Regions from separate parts of the Homo sapiens genome. Here region 1 is linked to region 2. Evidence: promoter capture Hi-C in 16 types of primary human blood cells and fetal thymus (Javierre and others, 2016). All regions are on one chromosome and are shown on one strand. Each heading gives the region's core, a stretch centred on a gene start or on the middle of the fragment in contact. The rest is flanking DNA. Distances are from core to core; before and after follow the strand shown.

Region 1 (2,700 bases), core at 163-2,662, 150 kb before region 2:
AAAGGATATACAGAAAACAAAGAATAGAAAGTATTAATACATAACTTTACAATGTATTACAAATTCCAACCAAATGTGGAGCTAGGCAGCTTAAGTAACTGTATGTAGTTCATAAAGCAAGGGTGTTCTGTCCTATTTCCTCATAAAATATAAACAATAATACCTCATGTCAGGATATTTTCAAGAATTACATGAACAATGCTAAATATTAGCAGCTTGTCGTTATCACGGTTGGTTTACCTTCTTTGTAGCTCAAATATCCTTTAGTTGTAAGTTTTGTATTTTCCACCTTTTAGGACTTAGAGTTGTATACTTTCTTAGAATTCCTTTGGAACTACAAAAGTTGGAGAGCACAGTGCCTAATACTTCAAACTGCTTGTAAAGTTCCTAATGGGAAGCAGCCTACCATATTTAAACACCTTCTCCATGAGCTTATTTGAGAGAGAAGAAAATAGTAATCATCTAATCTTCATTTCTATCCTTGGTATTTGGAGAAGGCTCTCTCGGATCTGCTTGGTGCGAACAGCATAGACAATGGGATTGAGGATTGGAGGAATGAGGAGATAGAAGTTGGCCAGCAGAGTGTGGACTGGAGGAGGCACACACTGACCAAATCGGTGAATCAGGGAAGAAACAGCAATGGGAACATAAAAGATCAGGATGGCACAGAGGTGAGAAGCGCATGTCCCCAGGGTTTTAAGCCTAGCCTCAGGAGTGGCTAACCCCATCACGGCCCTGAAAATCATCACATAGGATGCAGCAATAGCCACTGAGTCCAGGATCAACACCAGAAAGCCGATGCTCAGCCCATAGACATTATTGACCCTGCTGTCGCCACATGTCAAGGCAACTACAGCCATGTGCTCACAGTAGGAGTGGGAGATAACATGGGTTTTATAAAGGGGCAGCCGCAGGCGGATCATCAGAGGCAGAGGTCCAATGTAGAGAACACCCCGGAGGAGAGAAACAAGCCCCAAACGACCCACCACTGTATAAGTGAGCACCATGCTATGACGTAGTGGGTTGCAGATGGCCACGTAGCGATCAAAAGCCATGGCAAGGAAGATGCCTGACTCAACAGTGGCAAAGCAGTGGATAAGGAACATTTGGCCCAAGCAGGCGTCCAGGCCAATGTCACAAGCACCGAACCAGAAGATTCCCAGAAGTTTGGGTATAGTGGAAGTAGACAGAACCAGGTCAATGGCAGCCAACATGCACAAGAAAAAGTACATGGGCTGGTGCAGGCTGCGTTCTATCTTTACCACAGCCAGGATGGTCACATTCCCCACCACAGCCACCAGGTACATGGAGCCAAAGGGGATGGAGAGCCAGACGTGTAGGGACTCCAGCCCTGGGATGCCAGTGAGCCAGAAGGAGCTGGGTACTGAGCAGACATTATGAAAAGTGAGCATGGCTATTTATATGTGAACCTTCTCACTTGTACCACTAAACGCAGCAGGATGTTTTTCCTGGAAATAAAAGACAATATTTTACTCTAAGTTCCTATAATAATAGGGTCACTGACTAGATGTTAGATAAGTCATCTTTAGAAGAAATTCTAGAACGTCAGTGTCACATTATACTAAAATGTTCGCAAAATCTTAGAAAGTACAAGCCAAAACACTCATTTGAATGAAATACATCTTTTTGCAGTATGACCTTCGAGGAGTGATATTCTTGCATCAGTGAATGAACTGACCTAAAGCAAATAACTATCTGGTCATTTACCACTGCAGGTAGGCTATGAGGTGGTGCTTGAGATCATGTTGGAAGGTTTTAGAGTGTACAGCTACTTGAAAGAAAAGGAGATGCACTGAAGTGTCAGAGGGTCAGAGACACCTGGGACTATCTAGGCTCTATGGTAAACCAAAGCTTAAGCCTGGGACCAGAATTGACTACTGGATGAGCTGAAATGTCTAATTTGCAGGCCAAAATCACAAGGCAGAGACTTGGGGTGGTAAAGATGACACCTTCCAGAGGGTATAGAAACAAAGTGATTTCTGAAAGATGAAAGCTGACCAAAGCTCAGTTTATGCGTATTTGATACCCAAAGGCAAAGCCTGGCAAGGGCCTCCTCCCTTCATGAAGACTGAATATGAAGAAAAGGCTCCAGAAACAGAGGGTTATCAGCAGGGAGGAAGAAGACATTCAGTGCAGAGTAGCATGAAGCCTAAGACAAATGTTTGGCCATGAAACACCCTTACTTGAAGTCCAGAGCAACTCACTAAAAAGATGTCAATTTAAAGCAAATACATGAAAACAATGTGTTGTCTGATTTTTTTTTTTTAAATCTTTGTCTAAAAGACTATACCAGAATGTGTTCCTTATATATCAGAGGAATACGAAAGGTGAGGAGCGTGTAAGAAGTTTAATGCAGTACATCTTAAGCCTAGTTAGGTTGATTACAGAATAGTCAGCAATCTGGGCTTAGGACTTTTCTAGATCTGTCTTCAGATCTTGGCAGTGAGAGCTTAGGTGAACTGCTTTATCCCATTAGTGAAATACAACTAACTACACTTTGCAACAAACTTAAAGCCATGGCCTAGAGAAGTTGTCATGACTAAATGAAAATGCAGGGCCTGACAGTAACACTAAGCATTAGTTCTTTATTCTGTTGAGACTAACATGCAAAGCCAAAAATGTTCAAACTTCAAAAGACTCTGGAATGTCTATCTCCAGGAAGCTGTGGTGCTTGGGAGG
Region 2 (2,700 bases), core at 93-2,592:
AATCCTACTGGATACTGCTAGGTATATACCCAGAAGAAATACTGTTAGGTATATATCCAAGAGAAAGGAAATCAGTATATCAAAGAGATATCTGCACTCCCATGTTTATCGCAGCACTATTCACAATAGCCAAGATTTGGAAGCAACGTAAGTGTCCATCAACAGATAAATGGATAAGGAAAGTGTGGTACACATACACAATGGAGCACTATTCAGCCATAAAAAGAAGGAGAACCTTTCATTTGCTACAAGATGGATGGAATTGGGGATTATTATGTTAAGTAAAATAAACCAAACACAGGCAAACAAACAAATTGTTATGTTCTCACTTATTTGTGGGAGTTAAAAATTAAAACAATCCAACTCATGAAGATAGAGAGGATGATGGTTACCAAAGGCTGGGAAGGGTAGTGGGGAATGATTAATGGGTTCAAAAATACATGAGAGAGAATGAATAAGATCTAGTATTTTATAGCATAACAAGGTGAATACAGTCAATGATAATTTATCATTTTAAAATAACTAAAAGCATATAACTGGATTGTATATAACACAAATGATAAGTGCTTGAGGTGATGGATAGATACCCCACTTACCCTGATATGATTATTACGGATTGTATGCTCTACCTGTATCAAAATATTTCATGTACCCCACAAATATATACACCTACTATAGACACACAAGATTGAAAATTAAAAAAATTACTTTGGTAAATTTTATGTTCTATATTTTTACGATTAAAAATAAAAATAATATAACCTGAGAATGTCCCTAGCTCAGTGACAAGAACACAGTTGGTTGTCAAATGTCAATTTCCTTCTCACCACTCACTGGTGGGACACTCACCTTGGGGTCATGCGAAATAAATCACTCACCTGCAGGCGTTAAAAAATATTAGTCACATCAGTCACATGAAAATAATTAGCTTCTGGAAGTAAGCAGATGGTGGCACGCGAGGAAGAGCACCGGCCACTCTTCTCTGCATCAAAACTTCCTTAAAAGCATCTTCCAGACATGGACATAGCGTCTAGGTGTGGAGTGATGACCAGTGTCAAAGAAAGCAGCCCGGACTCCCCCGTCTTGTAGATATTTTACCAAATCAGATAATGAAGACATGGGAGGGAGCGCGCAACCAGGACCACGGGCTACTGAGTTTCCACTCCTTCCCAGTCTCAGAGAAGCCTCCTGGGCATGCAGAGCCTCTGAAGCCTCCCCCAGCTCAACTCTGACTTCTCTTCTCAGCCGCATTTCTCCACACACCCTTTCAAGGCTCTGCTCCTCCCACTGCTCCTCCCTCACTCCTCCCACGGCTCCTCCTCCTCCCTCCCCTTTCCTCTCAGACTTGCTTCTGAGCGGAAACTGAAAGTGAAATAGGGAGCTGGCTACCAGCGTTGAGTCCCCTGTAAAGGTGAGTGAACCCCACTAGATCAAGGGACCCCTGCCCTCCTAGGGGACCTCTCTCCCCTGCCCCAGGGTTGCAGAGCCCCTTCCAGTCTCCATCCTTGAGCCGGTCCCATTTGCCCCTTCTCCCACCAGGGATCCCTCAACCCAAGACCAGCTGCGCTTCCGGTGCTGGCCCCCTGCTTGGGAGGAGGCTGGGGTGTGGACCTGACTGCCGAGTTACCCAGAAGGGGAAGGGGCCCGGCTGCCCCCTACCTGGGAGGAGGCTGGGTTGTGGACGTGACTGTGGAGTTACCCAGAAGGGGAAGGGGCCCGGCTGCCCCCATGCTGGCACCTGACCTAGGATGACGGCTGGGTGTGGCTGGGATAGCCAGGACTACAGCCTAGCCAGGAGGGTAGGGAGCCCAGTGTCGGGGAGGTCTGCAATTCTGGAGACTCCCAGGTCCAAAAGTCCTCCAGAGGTGAGAGGGGCAGGCTGTTTAGGATGTTCAACCAGAAATGTATAGGCCTTCAGAATTATTCTTTGTCCTAGAATAAGTGTTGTCAGGAACTAAACTAAGTTTGGAGCAGCTGAGAAAAGAGCCCAGGGAGTGCTGGCCACGGTTCCTGTTACTCTGTGTGTATACATACATATACACCTACATACATATATGCAACTGACTTCCGCCGTTATAGGAGGGATTAATGAAGATATATTCAAAGCATGAAGTATCTCTGGCACATGGAAGGTACATGGTAAAAAGTAGCTATAATTTCTCAGCAACATGGAGGCCTGTTGGTACCCGACAGGAGATGGATGAGCACTGAGGGTTTAAGCAGGAATGGACATGATGAGAGTAGAACTGTCAACAGCTTTATGAGGTTCTTGCCAATTTTCATTCCCTCTTTTAGGGACTCAGTTTCTCCTTCTGTCTCACTGGATCAATGGACCAAACAATGGAGGAGTTCTTGTTATTCAGAACAGGAATAAACTTATTCAACAAACTGTTTGATCGGTGCAAAAGTAATTACTGTTTTTGACATTAATTGTTTTGCCATTAATTTTATGCCTTGTTTTGTTTTGTTTTGTTTTTGAGAGGGAGTCTCGCCGTGTCACCCAGGCTGGAGTGCAATGGCACAATCTTGGCTCACTGCAACCTCTGCCTCCCAGGTTCAAGCAATTCTCCTGCCTCAGCCTCCCAAGTAGCTGGGATTACAGGTGCCCACCACCACTCCCAGCTAATTTTTGTATTTTTAGTAGAGACAGGGTTTTACCATATTGGTCAGGCTGGTCTTGAACTCCTGACCTAAGGTGAT

Evidence for each region. The method cuts DNA at HindIII sites, captures the fragments that hold promoters and counts their contacts. A CHiCAGO score of 5 or more calls a contact.
Region 1: a contact is called between the fragment with the promoter of OR52M1 here and the fragment with the promoter of TRIM21 in region 2, in 3 of 17 cell types (M2 macrophages, M0 macrophages and monocytes). The highest score is 8.8, in M2 macrophages.

Annotation. Positions count from the first base shown.
Region 1 is chr11:4,543,903-4,546,602 of GRCh38, reverse strand. It overlaps OR52M1 (olfactory receptor family 52 subfamily M member 1), which reads right to left and starts at 1,412. Exons shown (of 1, transcript NM_001004137.1): 1 at 459-1,412. The coding sequence starts at 1,412. The coding sequence ends at 459. The HindIII fragment of the contact is 8,356 bases long and covers 1-1,874 here.
Region 2 is chr11:4,392,344-4,395,043 of GRCh38, reverse strand. TRIM21 (tripartite motif containing 21) reads left to right here and starts at 1,342. Exons shown (of 7, transcript NM_003141.4): 1 at 1,342-1,411. RefSeq lists enhancers at 1,162-1,221, 1,242-1,451. The HindIII fragment of the contact is 6,932 bases long and covers 1-2,700 here.